Regions from separate parts of the Homo sapiens genome. Here region 2 is linked to region 1. The links are contacts of gene promoters, found by promoter capture Hi-C in blood cells and fetal thymus (Javierre and others, 2016). All regions are on one chromosome and are shown on one strand. Each heading gives the region's core, a stretch centred on a gene start or on the middle of the fragment in contact. The rest is flanking DNA. Distances are from core to core; before and after follow the strand shown. Region 1 holds the start of ADGRE3 (adhesion G protein-coupled receptor E3). Region 2 holds the start of BRD4 (bromodomain containing 4).

The links. The method cuts DNA at HindIII sites, captures the fragments that hold promoters and counts their contacts. A CHiCAGO score of 5 or more calls a contact.
Region 2: the fragment with the promoter of BRD4 here is called in contact with the fragment with the promoter of ADGRE3 in region 1 in 1 of 17 cell types (monocytes); the score reaches 5.1 in monocytes.

Annotation. Positions count from the first base shown.
Region 1 is chr19:14,672,396-14,678,013 of GRCh38, reverse strand. ADGRE3 (adhesion G protein-coupled receptor E3) reads left to right here and starts at 3,170. Exons shown (of 16, transcript NM_032571.5): 1 at 3,170-3,268. The coding sequence starts at 3,244. The HindIII fragment of the contact is 5,907 bases long and covers 1-4,657 here.
Region 2 is chr19:15,329,533-15,335,382 of GRCh38, reverse strand. It overlaps BRD4 (bromodomain containing 4), which reads left to right and starts at 2,844. Exons shown (of 20, transcript NM_001379291.1): 1 at 2,844-3,093. LOC124904643 (a long non-coding RNA gene) reads right to left here and starts at 2,770. Exons shown (of 4, transcript XR_007067146.1): 1 at 2,735-2,770. RefSeq lists silencers at 2,535-2,604, 2,745-2,844, 3,075-3,304, 3,505-3,604, 3,635-3,784 and 2 more and an enhancer at 1,962-2,578. The HindIII fragment of the contact is 24,183 bases long and covers 1-5,850 here.

The DNA of each region.
Region 1 (5,618 bases), core at 1,921-4,420:
CCCGCCAAAGCACTCACCCCGTCATTCTCTTTAAATTAGCCAATCGGCATTAGTTTAGCCTGCGCGGTCTAATCCTAGCCAATAGGGGAACGACACAGCAGCAGGGGCCACCTGAGTCAGGGATAAGAACCCCTTCCCCTCCCATGTCCGAATGTGCGCTCGCCACTGTTCCATCTGTAAGGGCACACCCTTCTATATTGAAGTAACTTGCCTTGCTGAGAATTAAAAGGAAAATTTTATATTCAAGTGCTATTTCTTTCACGTCACCGAAACTTTATATATAACAACCACCACCACAACCGCTATCATCAGCATCAGCATCATCACCACCACCACCACCTTCACTACTGTAATTGTTCATGCTAAGAATACAAACAACCCCCTTGCAGCTCTCTCCTGTGGGTGTCTTTCAGTCTTAATTCAGTGTGATCTCTTTCCTTTACCTCCATAATACCATACTCCATTCATTTCCCACCCCCACCCCTCATCTCTCTGGCCATTCTCGTCCTGTCTCCTCTATTAGCTGCCTCTCCATTCCTTTATTTTTTTTAATTTTTTTCTATTGCCTTTGCACAAATTAACATTGCCTGAGTTTTTAAATGAATTACTCAGGGTTCTTTTTCCACTCTATAATCTCTCCCTAAATGATTTAATCCATGACCGTGTCTTCAGTTGCCACCAGGGCTACTTTCTTGCAGTGGTTTTTTTGTTTGTTTGCCTGTTTGTTTGTTCCTTTTTGTTCCTGTTGTATCTAGTGATACAAGAGCTAAAAAGATATTATTCAGGCAACTGGTGAGGGTAAGAGAGTCCTCAGTAAGGCTTCCCTGTTAACAAAAAGCAGCCCCAAAATCATTTCTTTTCGTCTTTACCTCCACTACCAATATAACCACCACCTTTGCTATTTTCACCCCATCATTATCACCACTGCTATCACAGCCTTCGTCACCATCACCACAACAATCACCTTCACTGCAGCTGTCACCTTCAATCACCATCATCACCACCATCTCTGAAAATATCACCATAATGTAACCATCACCATCGCTACTACCATCACCGTCACTTTCATCATCTTCACCATCATCGCAACCATCGTCATCATCACCATCATCCCTTCCTTCATCGTCACCACCACCACCTATAGCTCCACCATCACTCCTGCCACTACCATGATTACCACCATCACCACCACAACCGTTATTATCACCATCATCATCATCACCACCACGACAAAGAGCAGTCTGCAAAATCGAGCTACAAACATAAATAAGCAAGCTGGAAGTTTGCAAAGGTAAATGCAGCGGCTGTGCCAATAGGAAAAGGCTTCCTGGGGGCAGGCATGTTCAACATGGAGGTTCCCTCTTCCCTTTTTTTTTTTTTTTTTTTTTTTTGAGACAGAGTCTCGCTCTTTCGCCCAGGCCAGACTGCAGTGGCGCTATCTCGGGTCACTGCAAGCCCCGCCTTCCGGGTTCACGCCATTCTCCTGCCTCAGCCTCCCGAGTAGCTGGGACTACAGGCGCCCGCCACCGCGCCCGGCTAATTTTTTGTATTTTTAGTAGAGACGGGGTTTCACCATGTTCCCTTTTCTTTATCACCACGTGTGCAGTAAAAAAGCAGGCAACATAGTGCCAGCCAGGTAGAGACCCCATCTGCATAGTAAAAGATGAGGATGGGGCGGCCAGCTTCTTTGCGTGCTATGCAAACAGCACACCCAGTCCGACCAATCTCTCGGTTCCTGTGTAAATCAGACAGCTCCTCCTCAAGCTCGGCTATAAAACCCCATGTATTTCACCACGAGACCAGAAGACTCACTTGGGAGCCCCTCTCTCTCTGCAGGATAGAGCTTTTCTCTTTTTTCTCTTCTCTTGCCTGTTAAACTTCTGCTCTGAAACTCACTTTTTTTTTTTTTTTTTTAGATGAAGTCTCACTCTGTCACCCAGGCTGGAAGGAACTGGCGCAATCTTCGCTCACGGCAACCTCTGCCTCCCGGGTTCAAACAATTCTCCCGCTTCAGCCTTCCGAGTAGCTGGGATTACAGGCATGCGCCACCATGCCCAGCTAATTTTTGTATTTTTAGTACAGACAGGGTTTCACCATGTTGGCTTGGCTGGTCTTGAACTCCTGACCTCAGGTGATCCGCCCGTCTCAGCCTCCCAAAGTGCTGGGATTACAAGGGTGAGCCACAGTGCTCGGCCTTAAATTCACTTCTTGTGCATCCGCATCCTTGATTTACTTGGCATGAGAGGATGAACCCCAGACAACAACACTGCTTCAGTAGGAAGTCTGGTGTTTTAAGTCTAATGAAGAGCTTCAGAAGAGTTTTAAGCAGGGGAGCCGGGTGCAGTGGCTCACACCGGTAATCTCAACACTGGGAGACTGAGGCAGAAGGATTGCTTGAGCCCAGAAATTCAAGACAAGCCTGGGCTACAAAGCGAGGCCCTGTCTCTCTTCAAAAAAAAAAATAAAAACTAAAAAAAATTAGCCAGGCGTGGTGGCATGCACCTGTAGTCCTAACGATTCAGAGGACTGAGGTGGGAGGATCGCTGGAGCCCAGGAGTTTGAGGTTGCAGTGAGCTATGATTGTGCCACGGCACTCCAGCCTGGGTAACAGAGCAAGACCCACATAAATAAATAAATAAATATTTGCTGGAGGAAGGGTAGATTTACAGACTTTTTCTCCCAAGTCCTGTGACTGGTTAGGGTTGGTCCAAATAACCAAATAATGTATTACCTTCTATGAGACTTTGGGACTCTTAACTTCTTATGGCTCAGCAATCATAACCAGTAAGTATCATCTACTGGGGGAAGAGAAAGATATGTTAAAATGACTCCTCTGGAAACTTCAGATACCAACACAGACACCCTAAAATCTGGTTTACTCACCTCAAAGCCACAGGCTTATTTAAGATTTATTTTGGCCCCAAAGGCACTTCCTAATCCTCAGACAATGTGATGTAACTTTCAGGGCATTTCCTCGTTAGGGTTTACCAACTCAATCATCCCAAAGGTGATCAACAATAGCTAGGCAGAAAAGGTACAGCAAATAAACGAAAAGCAGAACCATGAGTCTGATGGCGAAAGAGGGGAAGCAGTTTGCTTTTCTGATAGCAATTTCATGAGTCAGCTGACCTAAGATACATACTTCAATTCTCATGGGATTTCTTGAGCTAGGAAAGGTGGTTGGCTTACGGCACAGTAGAGAGCTTCCAGGGCTGGCTGGCGTGGGATACCCGTACCACAGAAATGCAGGGACCATTGCTTCTTCCAGGTATGTGTGACTGTAACAATGACTGAGGCTTAACCTATCCCCCAGTCAGGGACCACTTGGTTCAACAATTGGTTATTTTCTCCTCCTCTTTCTTCTGCTCTGAACACTCTCACCTTTTCCCTTTGGAGTGTGGTTTCCTTCCTGACTACCCTATTCAAAGTATGCTCTCGAATATCCCTAAAATGTTCCTATCCAATCTAGTAGCTTGGTTTTTTGTTTGTTTTGTTTGTTTGTTTTGTTTTGTTTTTTGAGACAGAATCTCACTCTGTCACCCAGGTTGGAGTGCAGTGGCGCAATCTTGACTCACTGAAACCTCTGCCTCCCGGGTTCAAGTGATTCTCCTGCCTCAGCCTCCTGAGTAGCTGGGATTACAGGCACACATCACCACACCTGGCTAATTTTTGTATTTTTAGTAGAGATGGGGTTTCACCATGTTGCCCTGGCTGGTCTCGAACTCCTGACCTCAGGTGATCCACCCGCCTCAGCCTGCCAAAGTGCTAGGATTACAGGCATGAGCCACCGCACCCGGTCTCTAATACGTTGTTCATCTTCCTCTTGGCAAGTTTTGTTTTCTAATTGATGTCTTCTCCTTCTTGATAACTTCTGCAAACTAGCCCTGCCCTGACTTTTTTCCTTTTTCTCTTGCTATTCTTTCTTCTCCCTCCTTTATCATTTTCCTGTGACAAGAAAATAAATGATAATTTTATTATTAATTTTAGAGGTCATTATATTAAGTGAAATAACTCAAACACCAAAAGACAAATGCCTCATGTTCTTGTTTATCAGTGGGAGCTAAATAATGTGGACACATGGACATAGAGAGTAGAATGATAGACGATGAAGACTGGGAAGGCTGAGGGAGTAGAAGGACAGTGGAAAATAAGAAGTTACCTAATGGTTACAATGTACATCATTTGGATGGTGGATACTCTAAAAGCCCTGACTTCACCACTATGAAATCTATGCGTGTAACAAAATTACACTTGTATCCCATAAATTTATACAAAGAAAATAATGATAACCAACATTTTTGAAAACTCACTATGCACCTTACATGTATTAATCTGTTGCATCATCAGTATGCTCATGGGGTATCCTCATCTTACAGATAAGAAAACTGGGGCACAGGTTATGTTATTTGTCCAACATCACACAGCTAGTAAATAAGAGAGCTGGGATTTGAATCCAAACCATCTGTCTCCAGATCTTTGCTATAATGCTCCTCCCACAGGATCCTTACTGGGATCTTCTGTTTTTCTACTCCCTCTCCCTATGGGAATCTCCTAATTCCATGGCTTCAACCACCATCTCTGTACGGATGAAATCCCATCCATCTTTCCAGCTCCAGATGAATTAACAATATTGATAGTCCCAATATCAATCAAAGCTTACATTTATTAAGCAGCTACTTTAGCCTGGCATTAGGCTTAAATTGCTTTACATTGTCACATAGCATCTGCACATTACAGATAAGAAATTGCATCATAGAGAGGTTCTGTGAATTTCTCAAAGCCTCACAGCTATTCTGCTGCAGAGGCAGCTGATAGGCTGTAAATTCTATCAAAATAATACAAGCTACACTTAAATCCTAATGCCATGTCTCCCTCACCTTTGCAACCCCTAGCATAGCATCTTATATATAAGAGGTGTTTCAGTATATGTGGAATCAAATGTGAAAGAAGCCTGCCTTTTTGCAACTGGAGACAGAGTCCTCCACACTTCTGAGGTGGATTATTAGTGAATTTTGGTTATCCAGGAACTTTTAGCCCATATCACTGGATGGTACAGGCAAGGGTGATGATATGAGCATTGGGTCAAGAATTAGGATTCCAGGGTTGGGCATGGAGGCTCATACCTATAATCCCAAAGCTTTGGAAGGCAAGGCGGGAAGATTGCTTGAGCCAGGAGTTCAAGACCAGACTGAGCAACATAGCAAGACTCTGTCTCCAAGAAACATTAAAAAAAAAAATTAGCCAGTCATGGTGGCACACACCTGCAGTCCCAGCTACCCTGGAGGCTGAGGTGGGAGGATCGCTTGAGCTCAGGAGTTCAAGGTTACAATGAGCTGTGATTGCATCACTGCACTCCAGCCTGAGCAACAGAGCTCAAATGATAATATAGGCAGCAAGCTAGAGCAATTAGGCAAAAAGAGAGAAAGAAAAAGCATCCAAATGGGAAAGGAGGAAGTCAGATGGTGACAGAGGCAGCCAGTATCAGTGGAGGACTTCCTGCCTGACATTGTGCTCTACACAGTCCCTCATTTAGGTCATCTCCAAAACCCCACAAAGTAGGTCATACTGCCACCCTATTTCACATAAGGAAGCTTAGAGAAGTTAAACAACTTACCCAA
Region 2 (5,850 bases), core at 1,595-4,094, 660 kb before region 1:
TTTATGATTGCCCCTGGTTAAGCATGAGCAAACACATGATAGAAAAGAACTATTTTACTGGTATCCTATTATATCCATATATTCTGAAACCATGGGCCATCAGGAAATGTTTCATTACTTGGACTTAAAAAAAAAATACCACGCAGACTTTTTTGTTTTTTTTTTTGAGACGGAGTTTTGCCCTGTCACCCAGGCTGGAGTGCAGTGGCATGATCTTGGCTCACTGCAACCTCCACCTCCCAGGTTCAAGCGATTCTCCTGCCTCGGCCTCCTGAGTAGCTGGGACTACAGGTGCCCGCCACCACACCCGGCTAATTTTGTTTGTATTTTTAGTAGAGACGGGGTTTCACCATGTTGCCCAGGTTGGTCTCAAACTCCTGACCTCAGGTAATCTACCCGCATTGGCCTCCCAAAGTGCTAGGATTACAGGTGTGAGCCACTGTGCCTGGCCCCATGTAGACTTTTTAGAACTGAGTTTGCTTTCCTTTTTTTTTTTTTTTTTTTTTTGAGATGGAGTCTCACTGTCGCCCAGGCTGGAGTGGAGTGGCACGATCTCAGCTCACTGCCACCTCTGCCTCTTGGGTTCAAGTGATTCTCCTGCCTCAGCCTCCAAAGTAGCTAGGATTACAGGCACCCGCTACCATACCTGGCTAATTTTTATATTTTTAGTAGAGTCGAAGTTTCACCATGTTGGCCAGGCTGGTCTAGAACTCCTGACCTCAGGTGATCCACCTGCCTCGACCTCCCAAAGTGCTGGGATTACAGGTGTGAGCCACCGCGCCCAGCCTGCTTTCCATTTTTAAAAGATGGGAATACAAAATGCTAAGAGAATGGCCTGGGTGCGGTGGCTCACGCCTGTAGTTCCAGCACTTTGGGAGGCTGAGGGAGGTGGATCGCTTGAGCCCAGGAATTCAAGACCAGTCTGGGCAACATGGTGAGACCTCCTCTCCACAAAAATACAAAAATTAGCTGGGCACGGTGGCGCACACCTGTGGTCCCAGCTACTAAAGAGGCTGACGTGGGAGGATCACTTGAGACTGAGAGTTTGAGGTTACAGTGAGCTATGATCCAGCCACTGCACTCCAGCCTGGGTGACAGAGCAAGATCTTGTCTTAAAAAAAAAAATATATATATATATAAAAGGAAAGAGAAGTGGTTGTTTCCAGGTTTGAAAAATTTCACAGTATTATTTTAAGCTACAAGAGACATATGCCTAACTTCCTCCTTTTAGCAATCTCAAAACTACCCCATGTTTACTAAGCTCTTCCGTGGCCAGGTGGGGTGCTTTGGAAGCCCTAGAAGAGGTCATATGATGTTTTTTCCCCTCGGACTCACACATGTAGAGTAGGCACATACGTCCTGGAGCTGACTTAGGGTTGAGTCTTTTTCTTTTTTGGAGACAGAGCCTTGCTCTGTCGCCCAGGCTAGAGTGCAGTGGCACAATCTCGGCTCACTGCAACCTACGCCTCCCGGGTTCAAGTGATTCTTCTGCCTTAGCCTCCTGAGTAGCTGGCATTACAGGCATGGGATTACAGGCATGCGCCACCACACCCGGCTAATTTTTTTTTTTTTTTTTTGAGACGGAGTCTCGCTCTGTCGCACAGGCTGGAGTGCAGGGGCGCGATCTCCGCTCACAGCAAGCTCCGCCTCCCGGGTTCACGCCATTCTCCTGCCTCAGTCTCTCGAGTAGCTGGGACTACAGGCGCCCACCACCACACCCGGCTAATTTTTTGTATTTTTAGTAGAGACGGGGTTTCACCGTCTTAGCCAGGATGGTCTCGATCTCCTTACCTCGTGATCTGCCCGCCTCCCAAAGTGCTGGGATTACAGGCGTGAGCCACTGCGCCCGGCCCACACGGGGCTAATTTTTGTATTTTTAGTAGAGGCGAGGTTTCACTCTGTTGGCTAGGATGGTCTCCAACCCCTGGCCTCAAGCCAACCTCCTGCCTCTGCCTCCCAAAGTGCTGAGATTACAGGTGTGAGCCACCGAGCCTGGTCTGACTTGGGGTTGAGTCTTAAGGATGGGAAGGAGCTGGGCGCGGTGGCTCACGCCTGTAATACTAGCACTTTGGGAGGTCGAGGCAGGAGGATCGCTTGAGTCCAGGAGACAGAGACCAGCCTGGCCAACATCGTGAGATCCCATCTCTACAAAAAATAGTTAGCTGGGTGTGGTGGTGCACACCTGTAGTCCCAGCTACTTGGGAGGCTGAAGCAGGAGGATCGCTTGAGGCCAGCAGGTTGAGGCTGCAGTGAGCTATGACTGCACTACTGCACTCCAGCCTGGGGGACAGAGCAAGACCATGTCCCTTTTTTTAAAAAGGTGGGTTGGAAGAAGATCAACAGGGGGGCATAAGAGGAGAAAGGTGCTACCTCCCTGCCCAGGGGCAGCCAAGGAGGATCCGCCTCGGCCTTGCTCGCAGCCTCCTCTCACCTCCTTTCCTCCACTTCACCCCAGCCCCGGCGCCCCCATCGCAGCTCTCTCGCCTCAGCCTCCCTACCTGGGGTCCCCCCTTAGGGCTCTCTCCTCCGCCTCCTCCATCAGTCTGTGGGGTCCCTCCTCACCATCCTCCCTCCCTGTGAGGGTCTGTCTTCAGACCTTTCTTAGTATTTTGGATGTCTCTCTCAGCCTTCAGATCTTTTCCCGCAGGCCCAGCCTGCAGTCCGCCCGTTTCCCCCAGCCCGCTCCTTCGCTCTGCGGGGTCTCCTCCCTCAGTCCGCGGTATCCCCCACTCACCTCGCAGCCACTGTCTCTCCAGAGCTCGTTCGCGCTGGGCGCGGGGGCGGGGCGCGCACACCGGGCGGCGGCGGCGCGGGGCCGCGCGCGCAGCGTGCGCGGTGACGTCAGTGCGCTGGCGGCGGCGGCGGCGGCGGCGGCGGCGGCTGGGCTGTTTGTTCTGGTCTCCCGCAGCCGAGGAGCCGAAGCAGTGGCGGCGGCAGCGGCTGCGGCGGCTGCCGGCGGTGCCCGCGGGCGAGCGCGGCCTGTGAGCTCGGCAGAGCGGCGGGCGGGCCCCGGCGCCGCGCAGGCAGCTCGGGGAGGGGGCGGCGGCAGCGGGCGGACGGCCGGCGGGGGCGGCGTGCGGCCTAGCGTCTCAGGTGAGGACTGGTGCCCTTTGGGGCGGCGGACGACACTGGGCGGCTGGCGGAGGCTCGCGGCGCGGTCCGCGTAACCTGCATTGCGTAATGGGGCCGGGGCGCCGCCACCTACGCCATCCGCGCGGCGCGGGGGCGGGGAGGCCGGGGCTACGCGGGCTCGGGCCTGCGGGCCTCCCGCGCCGTTCGTTCCGGGCCGGGGCGGCCTGCGCCGTTGGTGTCGGGGCGGCGGGGTCGCTCGCGGCTGTCCTGCCTTTGGTGCCGTCGGACCCGGGCTTGGGCTGGCCGGCGGGGCGCGGGTGGGGGGCGCGGGCGCCGCGGCGGGGCCGGCGGTCGGGGGCGGGCGGGGGGCGGGCCGAGGCGCCCGGCACTTCCTGCCGCCGCCATTTTGTTAAGTGAGGAGGAGGAGGAGGAGGAGGAAGCGGCCGCCGCGGGGTCCGCGGCGCGCCCGGCCCGGGTAAGTCCCGGCCTGGCGCGGGGGCCGCGAGCGCAGCTGTCCCGGTCCGCGGTCCTCTAGGCGGGCTCGGCCGCGGCGCTCACGTGGGCCGGGGCCGGCGCGCTCTCCTTCTGGCACCCAGGTCGTTTTGCCTGGGCCGGGGCAGCGCGCCCCCACCCCCATCTCTTCACCTTCCCGGCGGTCCCCGGAGTGCTGCGGAGAAAGGGGCAGGTCCCCTGCGGAGGGAGGTGGCTGCGGCTGCACGCCGGTCTGAGGCCAGGCCTCAGGGCGGGAGCGGTGCCCTGGAGGCGAGCTTGGCCCGCTTGACGCACCCACTCTCAGCCTGGCAGCCCCTTGCTGGGCGCTTTGTTTTGCTCGGTCCGTGCTCGCCGGCGTCCTTGCAACGGCCTATTTTATTTGCAGTGTTGTGTGGTGGTGGTGATTGTGGTGATTTGGGGTGGGGATGTGGGGGAGTTGTGATTCAGCGAAATAAAATGATCCCCCTCCTCCCAAACGGAAATAGCATGGCTTCACTCGGCTGAGATGCCCCCAAGGCTTGGGTTTGCTTGAAGATGGGAAACCCCACTCTGTTGTAGTGGACGGTGTAAATACTTTAGTTCAGGCCGGTGCATGAGTCATGTGCTTCTCCTGGGTGGCTGACCTCCCTTTTACTCAAGACTACGCTTTGTTTTTTTAAGATTTTTATTTGCTTGTTTACTTGTTTACGTTTCGTGCAGCCTGGTGGGGTGTCTGGTCTTGGGTTCATTTCTCTGCGTGTGTGTTGGATGCTAGTGACCCCTTGGAATGTATGCCTCACGAGAATTGGAATGTCTTTGCTTACCTTCGACAGGGCTCTACCAGTCCGTGGTTCCAAAAACCAAGTCGCAGTTTACCTCGTAAGCCAGTGGCTCTTTGGGGCTGTAACAATGGTCGGGAGTTTTTTGTGAATGGAGCTGTCAAGTTCCCTACCGTCTTTGGAAGTTGTAAAGAAAGCGATACTCAAAAGGATTTATGAATGTGTTTTTAATTTCAAGAAAGTTTTTGATGGCACAATCTGTTTTATGATCTTGCCAATATATACATATACTTTTAGATGGAGTCTCGCTCTGTCGCCCAGGCTGTAGTGCAGTGGCGCGATCTCGGCTCACTGCAACCTCTGCCTCCTGGGTTCAAGCGATTCTCCTGTCTCAGCCTCTCGAGTAGCTGGGACTACAGGCGCCCGCCACCACATCTAGCTAATTTTTGCATTTTTAGGAGAGACGCGGGTTTCACCATGTTGGCCAGGCTGGTCTCGAACTCCTGACCTCAGGTGTTCCATCCTCCTCGGCTTCCCAAAGTGTTGGGATTACAGGCATGAGCCACCGTTCCCGGCCGCCAATAATTTCATAAAGCATTTATTTCGGTTTAATTTGGGTGGGGATTATGTTTTTTATCTTTTTATCTTATCACTGATGCGTTGTAGATAACCAAGCGCTTCCCCCCAAAAACTTCAGCCAGGGAAAGATAAACCACTCAGGGTTTCCATTGATCAAATGGAGAAGGCAAAGCCTAATCTGAAACAAAATGTATTGCTGCTCTGTTATCCACCATACCTCTTTCTTTGGTAGGAAACATAGTATCTTAAAGGCTCAAACTGGAGTTAGCCGGTCTCAGAATGGCTTTAGTTGGTCTTAATTGGAAGGAGTCGAGTCCACCTCCGAGTATCTTGCTAGCAGTCAGCCCAGTGGAATTGCTGAAGATAAGGAACTTTGCCTACGGATGAAAGATAAGAAGGTAGCTGCTGAGTTTTAAGGATTGTTTGGCTGTTCTGGGGTGCTATATGCCTAGCTTCGCTAGTCTGGAGGACAGCGAGGGAAAATTTTTAGCTAAGAATAACGAGAATCATTGGCCACTTAGTAACATTTCCACTAAATTATTGAATTGTTTAAAGGAATTTAGACTTTGTTTCTAAAAGTTGCCTTTTTGAGCCAGTTGTTGTGATCTTTGTACTAAATTGCACTTTTGCTTTAGGAGGTGGGGGTAACAATATTTTCTTGTTTCACAATTCAGGTTATTGAATGACTTCAGATTTACAGATTTAAGAGATTGAATTTTGTTTTGTTTTTATTTTTTATTTTTTTGAGAGAGTCTGAAGTCAGTCGACAGGCTGGAGTGCAGTGGTGCGATCTCGGCTCACTGCAACCTCTGCCTCCTGGGTTCAAGCGAGTCTCCTGCCTCAGCCTCCCGAGTAGCTGGGATTACAGGCACGCGCCGCCACGCCCAGCTAATTTTTGTATTTTTAGTAGAGACGGGGTTTCATCATATTGGCCAGTATGGTCTCGATC